Linked DNA regions of Homo sapiens: regions 1, 2, 3 and 5 are each linked to region 4. The links are contacts of gene promoters, found by promoter capture Hi-C in blood cells and fetal thymus (Javierre and others, 2016). All regions are on one chromosome and are shown on one strand. The core of a region is centred on a gene start or on the middle of the fragment in contact, and the rest is flanking DNA. Distances in the headings are between cores, read along the strand shown. Region 1 overlaps ZNF274 (zinc finger protein 274). Region 2 holds the start of ZNF835 (zinc finger protein 835). Region 3 has its middle 3.5 kb from the start of ZNF418. Region 4 holds the start of ZNF547 (zinc finger protein 547). Region 5 has its middle 9.2 kb from the start of ZSCAN18.

Evidence for each region. Contacts are between HindIII fragments. The CHiCAGO score rates a contact against its expected background, and 5 or more counts as called.
Region 1: a fragment that was not itself captured here is called in contact with the fragment with the promoter of ZNF547 in region 4 in 5 of 17 cell types (total CD4 T cells, naive CD4 T cells, total CD8 T cells and 2 more); the score reaches 9.5 in total CD4 T cells.
Region 2: a contact is called between the fragment with the promoter of ZNF835 here and the fragment with the promoter of ZNF547 in region 4, in 10 of 17 cell types (naive CD4 T cells, non-activated CD4 T cells, total B cells and 7 more). The highest score is 14.4, in naive CD4 T cells.
Region 3: a contact is called between a fragment that was not itself captured here and the fragment with the promoter of ZNF547 in region 4, in 6 of 17 cell types (total B cells, total CD4 T cells, naive CD8 T cells and 3 more). The highest score is 6.7, in total B cells.
Region 5: a contact is called between a fragment that was not itself captured here and the fragment with the promoter of ZNF547 in region 4, in 2 of 17 cell types (total CD4 T cells and non-activated CD4 T cells). The highest score is 5.5, in total CD4 T cells.

The regions. Positions count from the first base shown.
Region 1 is chr19:58,184,703-58,187,402 of GRCh38, forward strand. ZNF274 (zinc finger protein 274) reads left to right here. Exons shown (of 8, transcript NM_133502.3): 3 at 1,010-1,136; 4 at 2,245-2,340. Among named protein-coding and RNA genes, the nearest start is that of ZNF274, 3.0 kb to the left of the region's middle. The HindIII fragment of the contact is 1,171 bases long and covers 833-2,003 here.
Region 2 is chr19:56,670,333-56,673,032 of GRCh38, forward strand. It overlaps ZNF835 (zinc finger protein 835), which reads right to left and starts at 1,425. Exons shown (of 2, transcript NM_001005850.3): 1 at 1,244-1,425. It overlaps LOC105372473 (a long non-coding RNA gene), which reads left to right and starts at 1,647. Exons shown (of 4, transcript XR_936110.4): 1 at 1,647-2,099. The HindIII fragment of the contact is 4,177 bases long and covers 1-1,519 here.
Region 3 is chr19:57,937,564-57,940,263 of GRCh38, forward strand. No RefSeq gene overlaps it. Among named protein-coding and RNA genes, the nearest start is that of ZNF418, 3.5 kb to the left of the region's middle. The HindIII fragment of the contact is 1,983 bases long and covers 434-2,416 here.
Region 4 is chr19:57,362,182-57,364,881 of GRCh38, forward strand. It overlaps ZNF547 (zinc finger protein 547), which reads left to right and starts at 1,370. Exons shown (of 4, transcript NM_173631.4): 1 at 1,370-1,522. TRAPPC2B (trafficking protein particle complex subunit 2B) reads left to right here and starts at 1,370. Exons shown (of 2, transcript NM_001355204.2): 1 at 1,370-1,522; 2 at 2,634-2,700. The coding sequence starts at 2,653. RefSeq lists enhancers at 923-1,002, 1,043-1,422. The HindIII fragment of the contact is 1,910 bases long and covers 752-2,661 here.
Region 5 is chr19:58,106,093-58,108,792 of GRCh38, forward strand. It overlaps a transcript of ZSCAN18 not described here. Among named protein-coding and RNA genes, the nearest start is that of ZSCAN18, 9.2 kb to the left of the region's middle. The HindIII fragment of the contact is 4,764 bases long and covers 1-2,700 here.

The DNA.
Region 1 (2,700 bases), core at 168-2,667, 820 kb after region 4:
GGAGATAGAAAGAAGCATCAGGGCCCTGGGTAGGGGCTGACGGCTTGGGTGTGATGGTGCAGCTCAGAGAATTCCCTAGGAGGCATACGCACCACTCCCAAAGTCAGAATTTTCAAATGAATAAGAAATAGGGGGCCGGGCGCGGTGGCTCACGTCTGTAATCCCAGCACTTTGGGAGGCCGAGGCAGGTGGATCACGAGGTCAGGAGATTGAGACCATCCTGGCTAACATAGTGAAACCCCGTCTCTACTTAAAAAAATACAAAAAATTAGCCGGGCGTGGTGGCGGGCGCCTGTAGTCCCAGCTACTCGGGAGGCTGAGGCAGGAGAATGGCGTGAACCGGGGAGGCGGAGCTTGCAGTGAGCCGAGATGGCGCCACTGCACTCCAGCCTGGGCGACAGAGAGAGACTCCGTCTCAAAAAAAAAAGAAAAGAAAAATAGGGCCGGGTGCGGTGGCTCACATGTGTAATCCCAGCACTTTGGGAGGCCGAGGCAGGCAGATCACAAGGTCAGGAGTTCGAGACCAGCTTGACCAACATGGTGAAACCCCATCTCTACTAAAAATACAAAAATTAGCCGGGCATGGTGGTATGCGCCTGTAATCCCAGCTACTCAGGAGGCTGAGGCAGGAGAATCGCTTGAACCTGGGAGGTGGAGGCTGCAGTGAGCCAAGATTGCGCCACTGCACTCCACTAGGAGACAGAGTGAGACTCTGTCTCAAAACAATAAATAAATAAATTAAATAAATAAATAAATAAATAAAATGGACAGATTTTCATATGCTACAGAGATCTCATGTGTTGCTCTCCTTATTGTAACCTGAATAGAGTCAAGCTTGGGTTTGCTTGGGGTTTCAGACAAAGACAGGAACTCAGGATGAGACTCCCAAAATGCCCTTGGGTCATCTTGTAGACCATTCTGTGCTTTCACTGGCCTGGTCAGCCTCCCCTGTCTTTCTTTTGTCGTGGATGCGGATGGCCTGTGGCTGAACAAGAATCTGGATTTTTAGGAACCAGTGACCTTTGAAGATGTAACACTGGGTTTTACCCCGGAAGAGTGGGGACTGCTGGACCTCAAACAGAAGTCCCTGTACAGGGAAGTGATGCTGGAGAACTACAGGAACCTGGTCTCAGTGGGTAAGGCTGGCCTCCAGGTCAAGAAGGATCTGTGCTTTGTAGCACAAATGTAGCACCTCTGAAGTATGTGTCTGCTTGGGCTCACACTGCAGGGGCACCAGTAGGAAAAGGGCAGCTTTTCAGTATGACTTCTGAATCATTGCCTAGTCCATCCCTCCCTGAATACCAGGGAGATGGGTCTGTCAGGGATGTTTTCAGCTGCAGTAGTGGATGCTTATTGTTCTTGCAACAAGAGTTCCGGCCAGGCATGGTGGCTCACTTTAGGAGACTGAAGCAGGAGGATTGCTTGAGCCCAGGAGTTTGAGACCAGCATGGGCAACATAGACCGTGTCTCTATTAAAAAAAAAAAAAAAAAGAAACTCCACAGAAATTCCAGACAATGCGATGCCAGTGTCCCAACAGCTTAGGAGTAGCATCAAAGAGCCTGTCCCTGCCAGGCACGGTAGCTTACGCCTGTAATCCTGGCACTTTGGGAGGCTGAGGCAGGCAGATCAGTTGAGGTCAGGAGTTCTAGACCAACCTGACCAACATGATGAAACCCTGTCTTTACTAAAAATACAAAAATTAGCCGAGCACCCCAGCTACTCAGGAGGCTGAGCCAGGAGAACTGCTTGAACATGGGAGGTGGAGGAGATTGCAGTGAGCTGAGATCAGATCACAGCACTCCAGCTTGGGCAACTGAGCAAGACTCCGTCTCAAAAAAAAAAAAAAAAAGCCTGTCCCTTCAAACTCTGGTTATTGTGAACCTTTCCATGTTCCCCCTAGTCATTGCACAGCTGTGGCTCCAAGCATTGCATCTGTGTTCAAGGCAGAAACAAGGAGAAGGGGTAGCCCTTTCACAGCTGTCATGTTTAACCAGAAAGCAAAAGCTTTCCCAGCTGACCGATCTCCCTTTGTGTCTGGCTGACCAGAACTGGACCCCTTAGCTGCTTGGCAAAGGAGTCTAGGAAAGCCAACAACAGGGATGGATGGAGTTGTGTTCACTGCTCTAGGCCAGAAGTCATGTGCCTTAGCAGGGGAGAAGCTGGAGACGGCTTGTGCTGCAGTAGGATAGCATTTTCTCCTGAACACAGACCCCCACAAGCCCTGTCTCTTTTCCTTTGAGCAGAACATCAGCTTTCCAAACCAGATGTGGTATCTCAGTTAGAGGAGGCAGAAGATTTCTGGCCAGTGGAGAGAGGAATTCCTCAAGACACCATTCCAGGTGAGAACCAGACATGGGAAGCCCCCACAGGGAAGGGGCCAACTGATGAGTCAGGGACCAGTATCTTGGAAAAGCAGTAGACATTGGGATACCCCAGGTGGGATGCTGTGATGAGCAGTTGCAGAACCAAACTCGAAGTTTTTCTCTGGCTCCACAGTCAGCAGTGTCCTACTTGGTTGAAAGTGAACCTGTTGCTGGTGGCAGGTGATACTTGTGTTGACAGTAGGGGCTCCCTTAGTCTGTTACACGCATTGTCTACTGCCCTCCCCTCATAATCACTGGTAACCCTGGTGTGTATTTCCAGCCAGACTTTCTTATATAGGCTTACGTGAATGTATGTGAATATATATACACATTTTG
Region 2 (2,700 bases), core at 175-2,674, 690 kb before region 4:
TGCATTACATCACACTCTGACACACACAGGGTCATACACAATCATACCTGCCCAGACACACACAGACATGCAGAGACACCCAAACCCATATCCAGGGACACACAGTCGCCCTCCTAACCCCCATGCAAGGAGGCAGGTGGGAAGCCATCACCTGCAGCCACACTCACACATGCACACAGGGTCCCGGGCACACGTAGCTACACACACACCCAGCCCCACACGTAGCTCCCTGTGTGAAGAGGTGCACAGAGACGCACAAGGTCACACATGCCACCTGCTCCACACAGGCCGGCCATTACTGGGACACACCCACAGGGGATGGCTGGACACATGTGCAGTCACACTCGGTGGATAGAGCTCCAGCATAGCCAAAGCCCACATGTGCAGCGTCTCCATCATGTGCAGATGCACACACTTCAGACAGCACGGCACTCTACAGGCTCGCACAGCCAGGTCACCCATCATTGTGCTGGCAGGCACACGGGCCGAGCCAGCCTACACGGCGGCACACCCAGACATGCACACGTGGGGTCACACACCTCACATCCAGGAGAACTTTCAGACTTGCCCAAAGGCAGCCACACGTGTATGTGACATGCTGTGATATGCAGACACCGCTTCACATGAACGAGCACATAACACACCGATAAAGTGTTACATGCCTTTACCTGCAGTCACCTGCCTGGGCTGGCACCACTGAGTGAGCAGGTGCAGACACAGTGACACTCGGGGACGGGCTCACAGGCAGTCACACACCTGCAAGGCCTGGCACCGCCGAGTGAGCAGGTACAGACACAGTGATGGGCTGGCACCGCCAAGTGAGCAGGGGCAGACGCTGTGACACTCAGGGACGGGCTCACAGGCAGTCACACACCTGCACCTGCTGGTACCGTCGAGTGAGCAGGTGCAGACGCTGTGACACTCAGGGACAGGCTCACAGCCAGTCACACACCTGCACGGCCTGGCACCGCCAAGTGAGCAGGTACAGACACAGTGACGGGCTGGCACCGCCGAGTAAGCAGGTGCAGATGCAGTGACAGGCTCACAGGCAGTCACACACCTGCACCTGCTGGTACCGTCGAGTGACCAGGTGCAGACGCTGTGTTACTCAGGGACGGGCTCACAGGCAGTCACACACCTATACGGGCTGACACCGCTAAGTGAACAGGTGCAGACACAATGGCACTCGGGGACGGGCTCACACGCGGTCACACACCTGCAGGAACACGCGCACACTACACACCGTTGCTCTCGCCTCCCGGTATCACCTTCGAACGCGCTGGCCGGCCCCCTCCTAGCCTGGTGCAGTCGGCTCCGCTTCTACTCAGTCTCGGGTCCTCCTGGGCCAACGCAGACCCTGGTGCCTCCTTCCTTAGACGAGCTAAGGTCAAGACTTCTGCTGCTGCGGAGGAGCCCGCGCACCAGGCCGGGGTGGACTGCGCCTGCGCATCGGGCCCGCCTGGTTCTTAGGAACTACGACTCCCAGGGGGCGCTGCGCGCTCGCCGGCACCGCGACTAAAGCTTGCAAAGCCTGGGTCATCGAAACTACAACTCCCAGAAGGCTAAGCGTCTGCACACGCTAGGTCCGCAGGGCGCTGACCCCTGGGGGCCCGAGGAGCGCCGGGCTGCTGCCCCGAGCCCCGCCCACTACAGCCTCAGTGCATGGCGGTGGGCGCTTCCAGTAACTCAGGGGTGGGACTTTTTTCTTGCTCAGGGGATGAGGCCGAGCCCACAGGCTTAGAAAGAAGGAACTTGAGTCCGGGCACCTGTCATCCCAGCGCTTAGGGAGGCCGAGGCGGGTGGATCACCTGAGGTCAGGAGTTCGAGACCAGCCTGGCCAATATGGCGAAACCCCCGTCTCTACTAAAAATACAAAAATTAGCCGAGCATGGTGGCATGCACTTCCAGCTACTTGGAAGGCTGAGGCGGGAGAATGGCTTGAACCTGGGAGGCGAGGGTTGCAGTGAGCTGAGATCGCACCACTGCACTCCAGCCTGGGTGACAGAGCGAGACTTCGTCTCAAAAAAAAAGAAGAAGAAAGAAGGAAGCTGAGGTTCAGACAGGCTAAGTCCCTACTGCAGGCTGCGGAATCTAAAAAGGTAGGTGCCAGGGTTTGCAACCCACACTTTTATTTTGGTCTCAGGTAGCTGATGTCATTCCAGTCTATGGCAAAGAAGGTGGCAAATCCATTAACATAGATGAAGAATTTCATTTTACTTTTTAGTTTTATTTATTTATTTATTTTTATTATGTATCATGCTTTTAATACAAACTTTAAAAAATCTGGAACAATAGAAACTGTACAGATTTGATCAATCTTTTTGTTTTGTTTTTAAACTAAAATCTCTAAACACACCAATGTCCTATTCCAAAATATTGCACAACATTCTGAATACAAAACCCTTGATTGTATTCCTCCTTCACTGAAGAAAAAACTTCATGACCCTGCTCCCCGGGCTCCTCTCCAGGCTTGCGTCAATGCCCCCTTCCCATCCCTAGGGAGAAAACTAGAGAATCTATAACTCACTGCATTGAGAAAAAGACATCATTCTGGACTAACAGTTTCCATTCTTCAGAAGATAATCCACCTTTTGATTTGTTCCTGGGAAACAGGGATAGATAGAGGATGGGGAAAGGGGAGAAAAGGTTTTATTTCTCCTCTTTTTTTTTTAAAGTTTGTTTTTCCTGAAAAAATATGTT
Region 3 (2,700 bases), core at 175-2,674, 580 kb after region 4:
TTTTAACAGTGATGTCTACGAAGAGATGGAATTAAGGTCAGCATGTGATTAAAAATGTCCCCCTTGTTGGTTTTGTCATTGAGATTTTTTTTTCTTTATTAAAAACATTGAACAATACCAAGGTGGAGAAAAATTGTGCCTGTTCACCTACCTACTTGGGAGGCTTAGAGGGAGGATCACTTCTGCAAAGGAGTTTGAGGCCAGCCTGGGCAGCAGAGCAAGACTCTGTCTCCAAATAAATAATTTAATGAATAAGTAAAAACAGAAGGTGAAATCTGCAGTATAGTATTATCCTCATAGAATTGTGTCTCCCTTTCTTCATTATTCTGTGTGTCAATTATGTTACAAGTTTTTCATCTTATAGGAAAAAAGTCATAGATTCTATACACATCTGTACTTTTTCTCACTTAGCAATATGGTTTGAACAATGAAAAGCTTCTTTTTCACTTCACATTTGAAATCTGCTTATCTCCACATTCTATTTTTTTCTCCCCTTTTTGAGACAGCGTCTCACTCTGTTGCCAAGGCTGAAGCGCAGTGGCATGATCAAGGCTCAACTGCAGTCTCAACCTCTCAGGCTCAAGTGATCCTCCCATCTCAGCATTCAGGAGTAATTGGGACTATAGGCATGCACCACCACAACCAGCTAATTTTTGAGAGATGTGGTTTTGCCATGTTGCCCAGGCTGGTATCAAACTCCTGAGTTCAAGCAATCCTCCTGCCTCGGCCTCCCTAAGTGCTGGCATTATAGGATTCGGCCACTACACCTGGCCTATTCATCTTTTTCTGATGTAGAACCCACTCAGTGACAGTGTAATCAAGAATCAAGAAAGAGGCCAGATGCAGTGGCCATGCCTGCAATCCCAGCACTTTGGGAGCCTAAGGTGGGCAGATCACTTGAGGTCAGGAGTTTGAGACCAGCCTAGCCAACATGGCAAAAACCCGTCTCTACTAAAAATACAAAAATTAGGTGGGTGTGGTGGCGCACATCTGTAATCCCAGCTACTCGGGAGGCTGAGGCAGGAGAATTGCTTGAACCCGGGAGGCAGAGGTTGCAGTGAGCTGAAATCGTGCCACTGCACTCCAGCGTGGACAACAGAGCAACTCCGTCTCAAAAAAAAATAGAGCCAGAATACAATACACAAGCAACTGAAGTATTTCAACAGCAAAGAAACCCTCAAACAATCCAATTTAAAAATGTCAAACGATCTGAATAGGCATTTTTCAAAAGACAACATACAAACGGTCAAAAATATATTAAAACACACTCATCACTATCTGGGAAATGCAAATCAAAACCGCAATGAGGTATCACTCTCCCCGTTTAGGATAATTATTATCAAAAAGACAAAAACAGACGCTGGCAAGGATGCAGAGAAAAGGGAACTAATGGCCAGGTGCGGTGGCTCACATCTGTAATCCCAGCACTTTGGGAGGCCGAGCTGGGTGGATCACGAGGTCAGGAGTTCGAGACTGCCTGACCAACGTGGTGAAACCCTGTCTCTACTAAAAATGCAAAAATTAGCCAGGCGTGGTGGTGCGTGCCTATAATCCCAGCTACTCAGGAGACTGAGGCAGGAGAATAGCTTGAACCCGGGAGACGGAGGTTGCAGTGAGCCAAGATCATGCCACTGCACTCCAGCCTGGGCGACAGAGAAAGACTCCATCTCAAAAAAAAAAAAAAACCCAACAAAATACAAGAAAAGGGAACTCATGCACTGGTGGTGCAAATGCAAACCAGTACAGCCATTATGGAGAACAGTATTGAGGTCCCTCTAAAAACTACAAATATGCCAGGCGCGATGGCTCACGCCTGTAATCCCAGCACTTTGGGAGGCTGAGGCAGGCGGATCACGAGGTCAGGAGTTCGAGAACACCCTAACCAACATGGTGAAACCCCGTCTCTTCTAAAAATACAAAAATTAGCAGGGGTGGTGGCACGCACCTGTAATCCCAGCTACTCAGGAGGCTGAGGCAGGAGAATTGCTTGAACCTGGGAGGCGGAGGTTGCAGTGAGCCAAGATCACACCACTGCACTCCAGCCTGGATAACAGAGTGAGACTCTGTCTCAAAAAACAAAACAAAACAAAACAAAAAACTACAAACACAACTACCATATCATCCAGCAATCCCCCTACTGGGAATTTATCCAAAGGAAAGAAAATCATCACATTGGAGACACATCTACACCCCGTTTACTGCAGCACTATTCACAATAGCCAAAATATGGAATCAACCTAGATGTCCAACAACAGATAAATGGATAAAGAAAATGTGGTTTATACACACAAAGGAATACTATTCAAAGAACAGAATGAAATCCTATCACCTGAGGCAACATGGATGGAAATGGAGGACATTATTTAAGTGAAATAAGCCAGGAACATAAACATGCACATTCCCACTCATATGTGGAAGCTTTAAAAAAAAAAAAAAAAAGCTGGGTGCGGTGGCTCACGCCTGTAATCCCAGCACTTTGGGAGGCTGAGGCGGGTGGATCACCTGAGGTCGGGAGTTCAAGACTAGCCTGACCAACATGGAGAAACCCTGTCTCTACTAAAAATACAAAATTAGCCGGGGTGGTGGTGCATGCCTGTAATCCCAGCTACTCAGGAGGCTGAGGCAGGAGAATCGCTTGAACCCAGGAGGCAGAGGCTGCGGTGAGCCAAGATCATGCCACTGCACTCCAGCCTGGGCAAA
Region 4 (2,700 bases), core at 120-2,619:
CACTCAAGGCTGGGCGACAAGAGCGAGACTCCTCCAAAAACAAAAAAAAACCCACCATCCTCCTGGGCAGCAAGTCATACCCTCCCGCCGCGCCCCCTGCCCCCCACCCCTGACCCCTCTCATCCAGGCCTATAATTGCCCCAGCCTGTAAGCAGTGAGGGGTTCTGGCACTAAGCTAGTTCTCCCCATCACAGGTCTCGTGCTGGACATAAAACCTGCATTGCTGTAGAGCTGCCAACTCTGCCTTTCTTTAACCCTCGCCTTCCCTTCAAAACCTAACAGTTATTATTAATAGATTTCTGTAATTTTCATTTCACAAGTATTTTCACAGATAATTTCAACTCCCTGTAAAATGATAACTCACTTCTCAGGAAGGAGATAAGATCATGAAAGTTCACAGTTTTTATTGGGGATAATACGTTCCCTGTGTACATATACTCCAACTATGGAATGGCACAAAATGTCCTGTCAGGAAATGGCATGTATCAGTCACTCTCATTTTCAGACAGGATTGAGACTTTTAAAATAAATGTAAAATATTTCAGACATGAAGTAATAAGTATTATTAGAATAAAAGCATTGCACTCTTGGTAGGAACACAATCACTGACTCTACAGACAGTAATGATGTTTTCTTCTGGATCCAGAGGCACAGCGTCACCCTTTCAATCTACGTCGGTATCTCCTGTCTTCTTTTGTGCAAATTCCCAGCCATGTAGTCTTTCTTTGTTCTCTTGGACCAACCATATTGAAGCTTAATAAATAGAAGTCAAAGTTTAACTGTATGTGTATTTGAAAAGCAACATATGGCTGAGAGGCATGAGTAGAGACAGAGTGCCTTTGTGGTATAGTGTGTCCCTTTGGCGGTGTAGCCGTTGAGAACTTGCTGTGCTTCACAATCCGATATCATAGGTCCCTCACATTTCTGTGAGTATCCTAGACCTTACTTCAAGAAAATCTGGTTATGTCGCCTTTAAGAGCAACCCAAGCCCCGTCCTGTCCGTGGAGTCCGGCACTCTGTTTACCAGCTCCCCTGACGGTGCCACTGAGCCTCTATCCGCCATATAAGGACTGACCAACGCTCTAAGGCAAGTCCAGAAGCGGTGTCGAAACTTCATAACCCAGAAGACACTGCGGTTCTCGGCAGCGCGACTGACCCAATGAATGTGCAGGAAGGAACCTTTGCGTGCGTGCGTGCGTGCGTGCGTCCGTCCTCGTGCTCGCGCATCGTAGGAGGGCGGGACTTCCGGCGTCCTCTTGCCGTGGTTGATTTGATTTTCTCTGGTGTTTTCACTAGTTCCGGCCTTTGGCGCTCTATGACGTCACCGAAGTGACGGAGCGGAAAAGCGCGAGAAGCGGCTTGGTTCCTTGTACGCAGAGGCGGTAGTGACACAGGCACAACTGACAGTGGCAGAAGCTCAGCTGACAAGGACTGGGGACGGCGGTGTCCTTGTCTTGCCTTTGTCGCCCCCGCCCCTCTCTTCCCTGGCTGGACTTGCGGAGTCCCCGCCGAAGAACCCGAGGTGGGTGCCCCGTCCCAGGCCCCCCCCCACCTCCGCCCGACCCCTCCTTCCAGTGCTGAAGCCCATAGAAGGGGCCCTGCAGGTCAGGCCCCTTGTCTCGAAGAGAGGGGCGTTCCTGTGTGGGGTCCCCGTATCAGCTGGTTTGATGCAGCCTCAGAGCTCCCTTCGGGGATCTCAGGTTCAGAGCATGGAGGTGCTGCCAAGTGGGCCGCGTCGGGGAGCCCGGAGTGTGGGTTGTTTCTGCGGGAAAGAGAGGGTTTTGTGAATTTTCTCTTGGAATGGCAGCCTGAGCAGCCGGTATAACCATGGAAGGTTGTCAAGGGAAGACCAGTGGGAGGGGCAGGTCCAGAGTTAGAACGAGCAGGATGGGGAATTGACACAGAGAGACCCAGAAGAGGCCACTGCAGTGGATCCCAGAGGCTGCACCAGAGCCGTGGTATAAGAGGGACAATGTGATGGGATTCTGGATAGACCTGGAAGATAGAGCCAACAGGTTTTCCTGCCGTATCAGATATGTCTGTGAGCAAAAATAGGGAGTGAAGGGTCATTTTTTTTTTTTTGCCCGAACATCTGAAAGAATGAAGTTGGGGAAGTCAGCAGCATGAGAAGTAGGTTTCATGGAGAAGATCATGGGTTGGAGTTTGGCCAGTGTGATTCTCAGGCGTCTCAAGTTGAAAATGTCACATGGGTAGGGGGACAGAAAGGTGTGGAGTCTACAGAGGAGAACTGGTGTAGATTCTTCAAAAGAATAGAGGGTGGCCGGGCGTGGTGGCTCACGCCGGTAATCCCAGCACTTTGGGAGGCCAAGGCGAGCGGATCACAAGGTCAGGCGTTCAAGACCAGCCTGACCAACATGGTGAAACCCCGTCTTTAGTAAAAATACAAAAATTAGCCGGGGGTGGTGACGCGCGCCTGTAATCCCAGCTATTCGGGAGGCTGAGGCAGGAGAATTGCCTGAACCCAGGAGGTGGAGATTGCAGTGAGCCAAGATCGCGCCATTGCACTCCAGCCTGGGCGACAGAGCGAGATTCCGTGTCAAAAAAAGGTGCGGAGCGCGGGTCTCTTCCGCGGAAACTGACATTGCGTTTCCGTTGTCGGCCTCCCGCTGCAGGAGCCATATATTGAAGACCATGTCTGGAAGCTTCTACTTTGTAATTGTTGGTCACCATGATAATCCA
Region 5 (2,700 bases), core at 30-2,529, 740 kb after region 4:
ATGCTAGATGCCATTAAGAGCATTCTAGGCCAGGCACAATGGCTCACACCTGTAATACTAGCACTTTGTCAGGATGAGGCAAGAGGATCACTTCGGCACAGGAGTTCAAGACCAGCTTGAGCAATATGGTGAGATGCCGTCTCTACAAAACATAAAAAAAATTAGCCAGGCGTGGTGGTGCATGCTGGTAGTTCCAGCTATGTAGGAGGCTAAGGTGAGAGGACAACTTGAGCCTAGAGGTCGAGGCTGCAGCGAGCCATGGTTGCAGCACTGCACTCCAACCTGGGCAACAGAATGAGACCATGTCTCAAAAGAAAAAAAGACATCTGGCTGGGCGCGGTGGCTCACGCCTGTAATCCCAGCACTTTGGGAGGCCGAGGCGGGCGGATCACGAGGTCAGGAGATCGAGACCATCCCGGCTAAAACGGTGAAACCCCGTCTCTACTAAAAATACAAAAAAAATTAGCCGGGCGTAGTGGCGGGCGCCTGTAGTCCCAGCTACTTGGGAGGCTGAGGCAGGAGAATGGCGTGAACCCGGGAGGCGGAGCTTGCAGTGAGCCGAGATCCCGCCACTGCACTCCAGCCTGGGCGACAGAGCGAGACTCCGTCTCAAAAAAAAAAAAAAAAAAAAAAAAAGAAAGAAAGAAAAAAAGACATCTGTTTTTTTTGTTTTTTTGTTTTTTTTTGAAATGGAGCCTCCTTCTGTTTCCCAGGCTGCAGTGCAGTGGCTCGATCTCTGCTCACTGCAACCTCTGCCTCCCAGCTTCAGGCAATTCTCCTGCCTCAGTCTCCTGAGTAGCTGGGATTACAGGTGTGCACCATCACGCCTGGCTAATTTTTTTTTGTATTTTTAGTAGAGATGAGGTTTCAGCATGTTGGTCAGGCTTGTCTCGAAATCCTGACCTCGTGATCTGCCCACCTTGGCCTCCCAAAGTGCTGGGATTACAGGCGTGAGCCACCGTGCCTGGCCAAGACATCTGTTCTTGAATAATGAGACTGGAAAGTCAAAATTACTCCTGATCTATGATGGGCTGCAGAATACATGTTGTGTTAGCAGGTGTGAGAACAACATTCATCTCCCTGTACATCTTCATCACAGCTCTTGTCAACAAGCAGCCATATTTTGAAAGGAATCTTTATTCTGAGGAAGTCTCAACAGTGGGTTTAAAATATTCAGCACAGGCCGGGCATGGTGGCTCATGCCTGTAATCTCATCACTTTTGGGAGGCCAAGGTGGGCAGATCACTTCAGGTCAGGAGTTCAAGACCAGCCTGACCAACATGGTGAAACCCTATCTCTACTAAAAAAAATACAAAACAATTAGTGTGATGGTGGGTACCTGTAATCCCAGCTACTTGCTCAGGAGTTTGAGGAAGGAGAATCGCTTGAACCCAAGAGGCAGAGGCTGCAGGGAGCTGAGATCACACTACTGCACTGCAGCCTGGGTGACAAGAGTGAAACTCTGTCTCAAAAATAAAATAAAATATTGAGTGCACCATGCGGTAAACACATGTGCTGTCATCCAGGATTTTTTCTTCCATTTATAGATGGAAAAACATATTTGTTACTTTCAAACAACATAAACTCTTCAACATGAAGTCTCTGACAAAGAGGAGGCAAAGAAAATCAGATCAGTCACTGCCACAGATGCTCACTGAATCCCCATAGGTCTCAGTCCAATGTGTCAACTCTGGTTTCTAGCGAGAGCACAGATACTTGGGAAAACTTTCCCACACTAGACACACTGGCACAAGGTCGCCTGAGCATGTACCTTCTTGTGCTTGGTCAGACAGGAGCTGTCCCTGAAGGCTTTGCCACACCGATTACACTCGTAGGGCTTCTCACCAGTATGAGTCCTCTGGTGCCAGATGAGGCCCGCGATGTTCCTGAAAAGTTTGACACTGGTTACAGCCACAGACCTTCTCACCAGTATGAATCCTCTTGTGCCTGATGAGGTACATAATCTCAGTGAAAGATTTTTTCACATTGTTTAACTCATGAGATTTCTTTCCAGAATGATTTTTTTGATGCAAAAGAGCTGACTGTTGTGGTTGGAGAATTTTTCACACTCCATACACATATAGGGTCTCTTTCCAATGTGAATTCTCCCATGTTTAATAAGTTATGTGTGATCAATGAAGGCCTTTCTACACCCAGTACATACATAGGGCTCCCCTCACATGTGAATTCTCAGATGGACAATAAGGTTGGAGACATCAGAAAAGGATTTTTCACATTCATTACATTCGAATAGTTTTTCCACAGTATGACTTCTGAAATGCAAAACAAGGGAAGAGTGGCAGCTGAAGGTCTTCCCATACCAATTCCTTTCACAGGGCTTCTTTCCTATGTGGGTTTTCTCATGCTTGGTAAAGGTGGAGCCAGCACTGAAGGCTTTCCCACTTCTTGCATTTATAGGATTTCTCTCCTGTGTGGATTTTTTGATGTACAATCAGGTTGTAATTCTTAGAGAGGGATTTTCCACAGTCATTACAGGTATAAGGGCTCTCTCCAGTATGAGTCCTCTGGTGACTGATGAAATGAGATTTCGGTCTAACGGACAGTCCACATTCACTGTCATTGTATTCATTTCCAGAGATACTTCCATTGTGTTCATAAGGACATGTGTCCCTATCAAACACCTCCTCGTGTCCTTCTCCTTTGTGTTGTTCCTTTCTCTGGCAATTACATGTTGTTCAC